Linked DNA regions of Homo sapiens: region 2 is linked to region 1. The links are contacts of gene promoters, found by promoter capture Hi-C in blood cells and fetal thymus (Javierre and others, 2016). All regions are on one chromosome and are shown on one strand. Each heading gives the region's core, a stretch centred on a gene start or on the middle of the fragment in contact. The rest is flanking DNA. Distances are from core to core; before and after follow the strand shown. Region 1 holds the start of H4C3 (H4 clustered histone 3). Region 2 has its middle 12 kb from the start of TRP-CGG2-1.

Region 1 (7,262 bases), core at 2,349-4,848:
GAAGTCAAAATTGACCCAACATCATGAAGTTAATGTTAGAAAGGCCACATCTAAGAAGTAAAGAGCTTTCCGGGAGGCCAATTTGGAAAGAACCCAAAGGCTCTTTTAAGAGCCACCCACATTATTTTAAGATGGCGTAACACTGGAAACAAGTTTCTGTGACAGTTATCTATAGGTTTAAGTTGTGATGCAGCTGAGTTGAAAAGGCTTGAGATTGGAGAATTAATTCAGGCCAGGCTTCAAGACCATCCTGGGCAACATAGCCAGACTACCATCTATACCAGGGGTCCTCATTTCCCCGGCCACCGACCGGTAACCGGTCCCTGTCCATGGCACGTTATGAATTGAGCCGCACAGCTGAGGGGTGAGCGAACATTAACCAACTGAGCTCCACCGCCTGTCAGGTTAGCTGCAGCATTAGATAGATTCTCATAAGCTCAAACTGTATTGTGAATGGCACATGCAAGGGATCTAGGTTTCAGGCTCCTTGTGACAATCTAATGCCTGATGATCTGAGGTTGGAGCAGTTTTAGTCCGGAAATCATTGCTCCCAGCCCCTGCACCCCCTGGTCCGTGGTATAATTGTCTTACACAAAACGGTCTCTTGTGTCAAAAAGGTTGGAGACTACTGGTTTTACAAAAAAGTAAATTAGTCAAGCATGGTTGGCACGCTCCCTTAGTCCCTGCACCCAGGCGTTTAAGGATACAGTGAGCTATGATGGTGCTACCTCACTCCAGCCTGGGTGACAGCGAGTCAGACGTTGTCTCAAAACTTAAAAAAAAAAAAAGTTAAAACAGAAAAAGGGCTTCTTGTCAGAGACTGCCGTATATCTAGAGGTCCAGGAACTAAAAAGTCTGATGTCCAATCCTGAAAAGCTCGATGGTGCACTAGAGGAGGCTTTTACATGTAAGAGCATCTAAGTTCTGGAAATGCCAGTGTCAGGGAAGGGAAGTGGAGAGCAATTTGGCATCCAAACATAACTTGCTGATACTTTTTTTTTTTTTAACACAAGTACTACATTCTAGTCTTTCTGTGGTGTCATTGTAACTATTGTTTCTTAATATGCTATCCACTGACTTCAAGGGATCAATAAATAGGAATCAAGGTGTCCCAGAATATGGATTAGGGGAGTTTTTTTGTTGTTGTTGTTGTTGTTGTTTTTCATCTATTCATTATCCTGTAGCTGAAATTTAGAATTTTCTTCCATTGTGTGTGACTGATAGAAATAACAAATTTGTAGGTTATAGTTGTTGCAAGAATCTGGAAATCGTGCTTGCTTATTTCCGAAGTACTATTAGGTATATCAACAAAAACACACATATTACGGTCAAGTGGTTTGATAATTATTTTAATATTATTGGTCTAATACAATTGTAACCCTATGAATTACTTTAAGTATCTTATTTATGAAAAGAATCTGTAAGTTTCATCAGACTACCAGAGCATACCGAAGACTGAAAAATTTTAAGAATCCAAACCTTAATGGAAATGTTGGAGGCTGCCCAATTAGGTTCTGAATTCCACCTTCCTGAATCACAAACTTGTTTTAACTCTCAGTCTGAGGTAAACTACGTTTCTCTTTAAACAGACATAGTTTAATTTTCCTTTGATTTTTGATTTAGTATTCTTACTGATCATCATAAATAACCAATGCTAATGTTAGTCTACTTTGGACCATGGTATTTCGAGAAACTTTGAACAAAGTCCCCTGCAAAACTATGCATTGCATTATTTCACATACATTTATGTTTTCCAGACGGTTCAATAGTACCTCACTTTTCTGAACTTATTTGTATAGTTTGGCATCTTTTTAAAAATTGTGTCCTATAATGAAAGGTTGTAAACATTATGTTTTAAATTTGTATAGATAAAATCAACCACAGACCTTTCCTTGCTTGGATGTAATTGCCATTGTTTCCCAATGAGTTCGGAATTACTAGGATTGTGCAAAAATATGCCTCACTTGCCTGACATAGCAGAGAGCCATTTTGCCTAAATGCTGTGCCCAGCAATGGACTGTCACCAGATTCTCATCACATACAGTGAGGATGAACAACTAGCCTCTCCCAGCAGCTGGCCGGTCTCTCAATAATATGGGACTCCCTCAAGATGGCTTCCTGCACCTTTGCTCCTCTAGCCTTGTATGTATACAAGGCTAGCATGCCTGGCATACATAAGGTTAAAAACAAAATCAATAAGTTATGGTTCTTCCTCCAGTTCTGGGGATTATTAGACCACTTTTTTGTTTTGTTTTGTTTTGGATGGAGCCTCGCTCTGTCACCCAGGCTAGAGTGCAGTGGCACAATCTCGGTTCACTGCAACCTCTGCCTCCTGGGTTCAAGCAGTTCTCTGGCTCAGCCTCCCACGTAGCTGGGATTACAGGTGCCCGCCACCACGCCCGGCTAATTTTTGTATTTTTAGTAGACGGGGTTTCACCATCTTGGCCAGGCTGGTCTTGAACGCCAGACCTCGTGATCCACCCACCTTGGCCTACCAAACTGCTGGGAATACAGGCGTGAGCCACCGCGCCCGGACTTAGACCACTTTGTTTTGGCCAATAGGACAACAGCCATAGAACCCTCCGCAAATGAGAGCTTGTCCCTAAAGATGCTTTATTTACATAGCTGTGTGCCGCATGAGCCAAAAGGTGATAACCTTTGTTCAACACGCGCCTCCAGCCCTTCGGTTAAGTCCAAAGTACCATTCTTAGAATGCTCTAAAATACATAATTTTTTTTTTTTTTTTTTTTTTTTTTTTTGAGGAGTCTCTCTCTGTCTCCCAGGCTGGAGGGGAGTGGCGCGATCTCGGCTCACTGCAATCTCTGCTTCCGGGCTAGCTGGGCCTACAGGTGCAGACCACCACGCCCGGCTAAGTTTTGTATTTTTTTTGGTAGAGGGGGTTTCACCATTTTGGCCAGGCTGGTCTCGGATTCTTGATCTCAAGTGATACACTAGCTTTGGCCTCCCAAAGTGCTGGGATTACAGTCGTGAGCCACTGCGCCCAGCAAAATGCTTTTTGTGGAGCCAATCACTTTATTAGCGCTTACCTCTCTATGCCTACTTTATGCTTTGAAATTTTGTCACAGTGTGGCCGGTCATGGCAAACACAATTCATTCTTATGCAGGATGTCACGGTTATTTCTGTCATCCAAACTCATTCTCGCAACGCATTTCAGCTCTTTAAACGACTTTGTGAGCGGCCCTGAAAAGGGCCTTTGGGTTTTTTTGTTTTTGTTTTTTGAAGTTCTCAGGAGACCGCGTATTCTTAGATTCAGCCGCCGAAGCCATACAGAGTGCGCCCCTGACGTTTTAGGGCATATACTACATCCATGGCTGTGACAGTTTTGCGCTTGGCGTGCTCCGTATAGGTGACGGCGTCTCGAATAACGTTCTCTAAGAAAACCTTAAGCACACCTCGAGTCTCCTCATAGATAAGACCGGAAATGCGCTTGACGCCACCGCGCCGAGCCAAACGGCGAATAGCCGGTTTTGTAATGCCCTGGATGTTATCCCGGAGCACCTTACGATGGCGCTTAGCACCACCCTTCCCCAAGCCTTTTCCGCCTTTGCCGCGACCAGACATGATTCCTATCGCAGTGGAAGGTATGAACTGAAACAGTTCCTTAAATACAAACTTGGCGGACCTGATTGAAAACAACATGAGTTGGCGCGGTTTTTTTTTTTTTTCAAATTTGGTCACCAAGTGGGTGGAGCAAGAAAAACTGTTTCATTATGGTTCATTGTTTTGATTGGCCAGTGACAGCTTGCTCTTTGTGGGAGTGGAAGGGTGTTTGCAAGTTGAATGCGCTGTATTCCTGTCAGCTTAATGACGCTAAGCATAGCCCCATTCCACATTTCTTTTTATTTCCACTTGCTAACTAATAAATTACGGAATAGTTTATTGGGGAACATACAAATAATGTTTAAAGGAGGTCAGATTTATAGGTCAAGGGATTTACCCTCCCAATCATTTTAATATTTTTATTTAAACCAGGCATTTTGATGGCCTTCTCTGTGCTGGACAAGGTATAAGTTTGGCTATGAAGTTTCACTCCTAAAGACCCTATGTTTTGGGAAGGCAAAAAGGTAGCCAAATAATTGCAAATTAAAACCTCATAAGTGCAAACTTCTTCCTCGTCACTTTCCCTATCTCGATTCAAATATTTGTTGAATGACTCATTTTTCTGCAAAAGTCTGAGAGAGACAGGGAATATAAACTTAAGTCTGGATAATATGTTTTCCCGGGACGCTCTTCCTGGTCTGCTGTGCCTGTTTGCTGTGCCTGAAATTCCAAACACTCTTCCCTTCCCTCCGTTTTTAATCCCCTTTCAACTTGCTACAGCTTTAGAGAAAAGAACATTCGTTTTGTACAGTTGGGGATTAATTGAAGTGTAGGGCTAATACTTGATTAAGGTCATTACAAAATCTACAGGGTCTTCCTCTGGGAGGTTTTTGTGATAAGATTATTGGTGTTAAAATAAGGCTAATCCCCTTGAAAAATAAATAGAATAGCAGAATTGGGTCTGAATGTGGTTTGAAGAAAGGGACTTCTCAATTCAAAATTTTATTCTTAGCTTCCTGCGGGAGCTTTCCAGAATGCCCATAAGATCCACTTTTGTTTAAAAAACAAAAACAACCCCACCCACCACTCTCTGGTTAATAAATGAATTTCTATTGGGAATATTTAGAATGGGGCTGTGGCCTGTGAGAGACATTATATAGTAACCTCAGACTTGCTCACATGAAGAGAAGAAATCCAGGAATGGAGAAAAAAGACCCAGGAAAGGCCAGAATGCTCTACATGTCATATTGTTTGTATCACTTCTGAAATAATTGATTACATTCTTCTGCCCCAAATTGAGTTCTTAGGTTCTTCCACTCACTGTCCACATGCCACAACACAGACCTTATAACTAGAGACTTAGCTAGGAAGAAATGTCAAACATTACAGAGAAAAAATGCAGAGTCTGAGATCATAAGTAAAACTCTGAAATCTCAACATGCCTTTTAATTCATGAAAATAAAAAATATAGCAGCATATGCAATATGACAATTCTCTGAAAACATACATCATGTGAACTACCCTGGAACACATCTCGCCAAGTGCCATCTTCATTTTAACCAGAGGTCTAGGATGCCTTTCCTTTATTTTGCCTATTATATCATTTATAAAACCCCATTTTTATTTTGATATTTTATTTACTTTCTATTTCCTGCTCCTAATATCTCCTTTCTAAACTTTTCTCAATGACAGTGACTCAAAAACAATGAATGTCAGAACAAATATTTAAAGGATCTGTACATGTAGATATATATATTTAAAATGGATTCTTCCACTCTGCGAAGAATTCAGGCATACTCAATCTTATGGTTAGGGAGAGATTAGGCTCACTCGCCTAATCTGTATGGCTTCTCGTTCGCTTTCCATTTCACCTTCCTCTCACCCATCAGATCAAACTCATTCATTGAACAAGAGACCTAAGCCCTTCAGATTAAAACTCTGCAAACAAGTTGTGGTTGAGAGGATACATGAAGCATTCAAACAAATAAATCTATGATATTAATCAGAGGTTAATCTATGATATTAATCAGAGGTTAATGCAGTGGCTCACGGCTGTAATCCCAGCACTTCAGGAGGCTGAGTTGGGAGAATCGCTTGAGCTCAGGAGTTCAAGACCATTTTGGGCAACATAGCAAGTCTTCATCTCTACTTAAAAAAAAATAACCAGAGGTGTTATGAAAATATAAATTGTCCAGAACTACCCTCCACAAACTAACTCTCTCAGAATATTCGATATGAGGAATGAAATATGGTGTGTGTGTGTGTGTGTGTGTGTGTATGTGTGTGTGTGTGTGTGTGTATGCACCTATATATGGCACCTATATATTCAACAAACAATTCTGATAATTGGCCAGGGTTGAGAATGACTAGCAGCCCAGCATACACTATCAGTTTTAAGTATATAATTGCGCTTTAGTAAAATGTAAAGAAATCCCAGAGTAGAAATACTTTTAAGCTATATTACAGGTGAGAAAATGCATAAGTATAGTCTCACCCAACTTAGACTATGGGGGCTTTATAATGTCACAACAGTTGTTTCCAGGCATTTGGGGACATCACCACTGGTCTTGGGCAAGAAACTCCTCTAGCCAATGGCTGATTTATCTCACTCCCATCTAAGGCTTCACTGCATTTCTCTTTTTCAGCAACCTAACTTATTTAAAAATATCCATTTTCTGATTCATTTTTTTCTGAATTAAACTGTCAGTACCATTGGCACACCTTTGGTTCCGTAGCATACCTGTGTCTCTGCTGTGTTTTTTTTTTACCTCCACTCCTTACTTTTCTAGAAAAAAATCTCTGCTTTTTCTTTTCAGTTTAAATTATTTCACAAAAAGTTTTCTTGACTTGCACTTCCTAGGCTTGCTGTCCTTGTGTGGGCACGCTCCCATAAACACTATTAATACACTTCGATTTGTTAAAAATAAAGATATCTGGACAGAAAATTTCTTTTCTTTTTTTAAGATTTTAAAATTTTTAATGTTTATTTTTTTCCTAGACTGGAGTACAGTGGCACCATGATGGCTCATGGTAGCCTACACTTCCCCGGGCTCAAGTGATCCTCCCACCTCAGCCTCCCAAGTAGCTGGGACTACAGGTGTGCACAACCACACCTGACTAATTTTGTTTATTTGTTTGTTTTGTTTTTTGAGATGGAGTTTCGCTCTTGTTGCCCAGGCTGGAGTGCAATGGCGGGATCTCGGCTCACCGCAACCTCTACCTCCCAGGTTCAAGCAATTCTCCTGCCTCAGCCTCCCGAGTAGCTGGGATTACAGGCATGCATCACCACGCCCAGCTAATTTTGTATTTTTAGTAGAGACGGGGTTTCTCCATGTTGAGGCTGGTCTGGAACTCCTGACCTCAGGTGATCTGCCCGCCTCGGCCTCCCAAAGTGCTGGGATTACAGGCGTGAGCCACCACGCTCGGCCACTAATTTTGTATATTTTGTAGAGATGGGCTTTCCCTGTGTTGTCCAGGCTGGTCTTGAATTCCTGGGCTTAAGTGATCTGCCCACCTTGTCCTCCCAAAATGCTAGGATTACTGGCGTGAGCCACCAGGTCTGGCTGGAAAGATAATTTCTAACATTATCCTCTCTTAAACATTTGTTTCAAAAATTTTACAAACATGAGAGTAATTAAATTTGATTTTCAAAATTCCCTTGAATACTTTCTTAATAGCACACAGAAAGCACAAAGTATTT
Region 2 (7,262 bases), core at 2,900-5,399, 970 kb before region 1:
ATTCTGATATATCCCACATATTTTAAGTCTCAGCATATGCTGAATTGAACTAAAACAATTCCCCCAACCTGAATGTCTCCATTTTCTACTTATTCTTAATATTCCTATCAGCCAATTTCAAAAACCTGGTGCTCACCCTTAACCCCTCTACCTCTTCCACATTCAACAGACAGACACTCATAAAATCATGTTGTTTCAACATCTTTAACATTTCTCAAGTTTAACAATGTTTTATCTTCTGTGATACTTCTTTTATTCATTATGCCTATATGTCTATCATTTTGATTAGTATAACAATTTCTGGTTTATCTCTTCTTATTTTCATATCTTTGATTTATATTCCTTAATATTTCTGAGTTGTCTTTCAAGACCCCGAACTGAATCTGTAATTTCAGTACTTACAAGTTTTCAGTGGGTTTTCCAAGTACTCCATATAAAGTCAAACTGCATAGCATTTCACTGTAGGACCTCAAATGTTAATGGTTAATCAGCCAAAGACCTTCAGGAACAAGCCTGTTGCTGAAAAACAATGAGATACATGGACTGGATGTAGCCAGAGAAGGTGCTCTAGAGGAACCATAGAATGTCACTCTACAAGGGCATTTAGGAGAGGTCTGAGTTCCCACTGATGGATCTGAGGGGCCCCTAAGCGGAGTTGTTGATGTGTTGATGTTTCTCAAGGGCCATTAGGAGAGGTAGATTAATTAGCTATTGCATACTGTCACGAGATGAAGGCAGTTTATAAATTAGAGATCTCTGATGTCTGGATATACAAGGCAGGTTGGGGCTACATTGGTAAGAAAAGAGTCATCACTCAAATGGTGCAATTATGGCAGTTTACAACTGCTGTGTAACCAGTGAGTCCAGTTGACTCTGTAACCAGATCTACCTGTGTCTGTTCTCCCAACATTGGTAACAGGAGAGCTACTTTGATCTTTACCAGTCCAAGCTAATTTTTACTCTTTTTGTCTGAACAGGATTTTACTCTTTCACAATCAACCTCTCCAATCTCACTTCTTTTCCAGAACTTACATCAAACTACAAATAAATCCCCCAAAACAAAAGAAACCAGGATGTTTGATCTAACCTTTCTATAAGCCTTGTCCCCTTTCATTTTCTACTAATCACTAAGAGATGCCTTAGATTTATCTTAATTTGTCTTAAAGGTCCCTGGCAGTGTGAACTGCCTGAATTTAGGCTTGTACTCAGGTCTTATACCAGGAAACTTTATAACTTTTGGAATATTAGTTATTGCTTTTCTGCCTCAGTTTCCTCCAGTGCCAAATGAAGAGACTAACATCTATATCAATGCATTAAACAAAGCATTACATGATCTGAACTGGATAGCCTATAGTGAAATGAACTACAGGCTTTAATAACAAGAAGAGCAGTATGGACTAATAGGTTTGGAGTAAGAACTGGTTACATATTTAGTCAGAAACCTGGAATTTGTCAAAAATGAATGTCCTGCATACACTTCACCACCCTGATGTCCTTATCAAATATTTTTATGTTTGTTTCTTCTTATCTTTTTCTAGGGTTTCACAGTTTTCTGGCCCTCTCTTCATCTTCCCAAGGTTCCAAAGCTCTGATTCAGATTAGAGATTAGCTTCTGTAATACTAATAAGACACTTCCATTTTTTTGACTGAATAATAAGAAAAATATCAGAGGAAGGAAGGGTGACTGGTCTTCCAAGTTGTTTTTGGAATCATGATTGAAAACTATTTGAAAAAACATGCTTCACATTCAGATAGATGTGTAGTGCTCCATCCAGTTCTAATACCTAATAGCTTAGGCAGGTAAGGAAGTGCACCCATTTCAGCTCCAGTTTTCTCAACTGAAAATGAGATTAGTGCTCCCTGCTACATAATGCCAGGGTAAATTTACAGGGTTACATCAGGTTATACTTACTTATAGCCTGGCCAAAAATAAAAGTGGAAAATTTCTGAAGAGCAAGTATGATTTTTAATCATAATGATTGTTAATAGATGCTTCCATTAAACTGGCATATGGTTAATGAAGTTGACTTCTGTATATGATACAATATTATATATTGGATTAGGAGACTTTAAGGATGGATGCAGAAAGAAAACCTTCAAGATATACACACACACTCTCTCTATCTCTTTCTTAATGAATTAACTACTTAATAGGTAAAGACAAAGTTGGCCCACTTGCAAATCACAGAAATGCACCAAAAACGATATGAAGAAATTTGATGAAAGCTAATAATGCTGATAGAGTTATAATGCAGGTGAAAATGTAAGCCTAAAAATGAGTTTTTTCTAGAAACCTGAAAAGCTTTTTTATCTTTGTGATTTTTGGATGAAACCAAAGAGGGAACCTTATAGGAAGAACCACCCCGGACCTCTCTTACAGTACAAGATCCTGAACACTGGGACAAAGATGCTCAAGCATTTCTAGGGTCATCTTCTGGAAATGGTCCCCTTCATGTTTATGACCCCAGGTAAAGATTAGATGCAGAGTCAAGGTCCTCTGGCTCACATAAACTCCCTTGCTTAGTCAAAGAACAAAGCAAGATGCATACTTCTGAGGGAAATATTATATGGCATATGTGAATAAATAAAAGAATTGTCAGGTCTACTCACCTTGGTAGCTATGGTGTAGTAAAGCTCTGGGTTAGTCCTTCTGGCAAGGTAAGGCTCCCCAAGCCATGTTTGTGCCTTCTGGATTTGTAGAGTTCTTGGTTAACAAACTATTACCAGGACTCAAATTTTCAAAGTTGTTTTTCTGTCAGGAAGACGGAAACCCTCTGCAGGATCCTAGTCCCTGAAGTACATTTTCCCCTCTGTCTCCACAATTACGTTTGTTTGCCTCAGGAGTTATTTCAGTCTTAATTGGGGTTTAACTATTGCAATAGAAAGATGTACAGTGAAAAAGTAAACAGCTAGCCAAGTTTCTGTATCCAGGGTTTCCCATTTTTCTGGCCCTCTCTTCATCTTCCCAAGGTTCTAATGTTTTGAATAAAAATGAGAACCAGGTCAGAAGACACATAATAAGTCACTTCTTTTCTTTCTCAAGGCTTTCTTTATACGCAGGGTTATGATAGATGATGACCAGCCCTGGAGACTCTGCTTTCTGAGCTTATCCCAACCACAGGCCTGGACAGGACGAGCGTCACCTTGCTCTACCGATGAACGTTGGCAGTTTGCAGTCTTTGCCATCAGTGATTGTTTTATTCTTTGTCTGTGAAACAACAAATGGGACTGGAAAAGCAAAAGAACCCTCCATTTTTATGAGCTAATCCTGCCTTATAAAGCTTCATAATACTTCTTTAATTCATTATACCCAAGAATGATCCTTCTATAGGTTATTCATTCTGCCCTCAAAAAATGACCTTTCCAGACACTAATGCAAAGGACTATACATAAATGGTGACACAGGGTTGAGATTAGAGGTGAGAATGGAATTATTTTTCTCACTGAGCTGGGCTGTGAGGCAGGCTTCTGGTCACTGGTCTTCATTCAATGTGACAGTATCCTCATCTAGAGGTGCACCTGGTTCATATCAGATGCCAAATTACTTGTGCAATAAGTGAGCAAATAGCCCTTTGAGATAAGTACTCTTTTCATCCCTGATTTTGAATGAGGATATTCAGGCACAGAGAGATTGAGTAAATTGCCCAGTGATACACAGATAATGAATAGCAAAATCAGGATTTGAACCCAGATAATCTAATTCAGGTCATGTGTTCTATTGCCCATTGTTTTGCATGTGTCTTTCTGGGTCAGCCTCTCTTGCGATCTGTTTCACTGTCTAGGAGAGGTGGCTAACCCAGTCTCAGTATCAATCCCATCTTGCACAGACTCTGTCTCCATCTTTTTCTCTGCATCCTGGTTGTGTGTCCTTCAGCCTCTCCTTCTATTTGGAGTAATTGCCACATGGTGGCAGTGTTGTAGGACTTTCTCCTTAGTTCAGCTAAAAACCGGGTTCTTGTCACATAACCAGGAAAGATTAGGCTTGAGGATGCATAGAAGGGTGAGAAAAATGGAATTTATTGCGCGAAAAAGGAAAAAGAAATACTTTCAGCAGAGTGAGAGGGAGGCCTGTTAACCTGCTCCTGCCCCACCACACAGGAACACAAGAGGCTGGGCTCCTCCCCTCTGCAAACCACGCTAACTTCGTGGCTCCACCCCCTTTTCCCAGTGCACAGGTGGGTCGGAGGTTCTCTGGGGAGCCCTTTTTACTCGGCTGTCTCAACAGTTTCGGGGTTTACATGTGAACTTTAATGATTTCTGGCTGGGTTACATTGGATGGGCAATATTTGATGAATTACTTGGCCTCTCCATTGCTATACTTTTTCTTATGTAAAATGACATTGAAAACAAGATGCAAGATGAGCCTAGAGAATCTTGTTGTGTCAAAAAGTAAGAATGAGCTCAAAGAATGGTGAGAATCTGTCAAATAGGGAGCCAGCTTGAAGGGACTCCCTCCAGCCAAATTTGAGAAAATTTGAGAATCAAACTGAATAATGATTTTAAATGATTGTTACCTATTGGATACTACAAGAATCCATTAGTCCACAATTAAAATGAATAAATGAGGGAGAAGGAAAAGACCTAACTTTCAATGAAAAAGCAACTAGTAAATGTAAAAGAAATAATGAAATTAGAATATCACCACTCGATGACTATCATAATAATAATTTCTTCAGGAAGGAATCATCAATGGGTGCTAAAACTAATAGGTGGAAGTTTAGGTGAGCAGGATATCAATATTGCCTCAAAGTGTCTTCCCCAAAGATTTACTAATGACAAAGAGTAAAACAGTAACATTACACTGAACACCAAATAGATACCAGTAGACACCAAGTGATGGCAGCTAACACTGCCTGGGATGAAACACACCAACAGCACGTGAGCCTTGACATCATGCGCTGAGAACTCATAATAAATTCTACCGTATTCCTGCCAAAGGGGTCACCCTGAATCTAATTACAAGGAAAAATCAGAAAAACTCAAATTGAAGCACATTGTAGAAATGTCTCAAGCTTTTATGACAACAACATCATAAAATACAAAGAAAGACTCAGGAACTTTTACTGGATGAAGGAAGCTACAGAGAGATGACAACTGCATATTAATGTACCATGTGACCTTGGATTATCTTTTACCATAAATTGTATCACTGGGACAATTGTTGAATCTAAACATGTTCTATCAAGTGAATAGTACCATTGTATTAATATTAATTTCCTGATTTTAATCATTGCACTGTAGCCACGTAAAAGAATATTCTGCTTTTAAGAAATAAACCCTGGGGTAATTATGATTAAAACATCAACAACCATGACAAATGTTATGTTAATAATTTCAAGAAAAAATATTTGGCCAAAAATGTGAATTGCTTAGTAAGATACCATTCATTGAATACATTAAATCCTGTAAAACAACACTATTTATTATTTTTAATATTTCCATAAGTAGTAATACTAGAAAACTCTGAATGGGGGAGAAAAGTAGTAAAATTAGAAAACCGAATTGGGGAGAGAGTGAATATGACTGAGGAGAAAGAAAAGATAGTAGAGTTAGGGACTACTAAAACTTTTTAAATTATTTCAATTTTTTTTTCGTTTTTTTTTTTGAGATGGAGTTTCACTCTCGTTGCCCAGGCTGGAGTGCAATGGTGCAATCTCGGCTCACCGCAAGCTCCACTTCCCAGGTTCAAGCGATTCTACTGCCTCAGCCTCCTGAATAGCTGGAATTACAGGCATGAGCCAACATGCCCTGCTAATTTTGTATTTTTAGTAGAAATGGGGTTTCTCCATGTTGGTCGGGTTGGTCTTGAACTCCTGGCCTCAGGTGATCCACCCTCCTCAGCCTCCCAAAGTGCTGGGATTAGAGGCGTGAGCCACCATGCCCGGCCTATTTCAATTTTTTAAAACAAGAAACAGGTGTGGTAGACTATAGACATTCGTAAAGCCTGTTGGCTGTTCATGGGTTTCCAATATCGTTTCAGGTGAATGGATAAACAAACGGTGGTATATCCATACAGTGGAATACTATTCATCAATAAAAGGAAATGAGGCATGAAGACACAGAAAACACGGGGAAACTTAAATGCATATTGTTAAGTGAAAGAAGCTAGTCTGAAAAGGCTGCATACTATATGATTCCAACTATATGACATTTTGGAAAATGCTAAACTATAAGGATAGTGGAAAGATCAGTGGTTGCCAGGATCTAGGATGGCAGGAAGAAGAGAAGGATGAACAGGTAGAACACAGAGGACTTCTAGGGTTATAAAACTATTCAGTATGATCCTGTAATGATCATTGTATATTTGTCAAGACCTTTATAATGTACAACACAAAAAGTGAACACTAATGTAACTATGAACTTTAGTTAATAAAAATGCATCAATATTGTCTCATCAACTGTTGCAAATATATCACACTATAAGGACGTATATGGGAACTCTCGTACTTTCTGATCAATTTTTTTGTAAATGTAGAACTCTAAAAATAGTCCAGAAAATTAAAAAAAGAGATAAAATGGAAGGTATTATCTAGAAAGTAGCACAGATGTGAAAACAATGGAAAACATTTTTAAAACACTTAGAACTTGCAGGATAGGAAGAGGCAATATTTACAAAGATAATGGCTGATAATTTCTCCAAACAAAGGAAAGATATGACTTCACATACACAGAAAGCACAACATATTCCAAGCAGATCAAATAGAAAGTGATCTCACCGGACACACTGTAGTGCAATTAACAATACTAAAGACTAAAGGAAGATTTTTAAAGCAACAGGAAAGAGAAAAAAAGATTGCTGAAGAAATAACATTCAGATTGCCATAGGTTTTTGAAACCACAAAGTGAAAGTCCAATCTGAGAAAAAGTGTATCTTCAAACTGTTGAGAGAAACATGTCAACTCAAAAGTTTATACAAAGAAATGTCTTGGTTCATTTTCTGTTGCTATAACAGAATACCTTAGACCGGGTAATTTGTAAAGAAAAGAAGTTTATTCTGGAGGCTGGGAAGTCCAAGGTCATGGGACTGGCTTCTGGCAAGGGTTTTTGTTCTGCATCACGACATGGTGAAAAAGCAACACGACAAGAGAATGTGGATGAAAGAGGGAAAAAGAAGCAGGCTGACTGGTTTTATAACAACTCACTCTCATGAGAACTAACCCAGTTAGCCAGAACTGCATGAATCTCTTCATGAGGGCAGAGATAACCCAAATACCTTCCACCAGGCCCTATTTCCCAATCCTTCCACTTTAGGGAATTAAGGT

What was found. The method cuts DNA at HindIII sites, captures the fragments that hold promoters and counts their contacts. A CHiCAGO score of 5 or more calls a contact.
Region 2: a fragment that was not itself captured here is called in contact with the fragment with the promoter of H4C3 in region 1 in 1 of 17 cell types (total B cells); the score reaches 5.3 in total B cells.

What each region holds. Positions count from the first base shown.
Region 1 is chr6:26,100,269-26,107,530 of GRCh38, reverse strand. H4C3 (H4 clustered histone 3) reads right to left here and starts at 3,598. Exons shown (of 1, transcript NM_003542.4): 1 at 3,194-3,598. The coding sequence starts at 3,583. The coding sequence ends at 3,272. It overlaps H1-6 (H1.6 linker histone, cluster member), which reads left to right. Exons shown (of 1, transcript NM_005323.4): 1 at 1-119. The coding sequence ends at 61. RefSeq lists enhancers at 3,236-3,926, 3,951-4,060. The HindIII fragment of the contact is 10,429 bases long and covers 1-7,262 here.
Region 2 is chr6:27,075,718-27,082,979 of GRCh38, reverse strand. No RefSeq gene overlaps it. Among named protein-coding and RNA genes, the nearest start is that of TRP-CGG2-1, 12 kb to the left of the region's middle. RefSeq lists a silencer at 4,145-4,224. The HindIII fragment of the contact is 1,731 bases long and covers 3,284-5,014 here.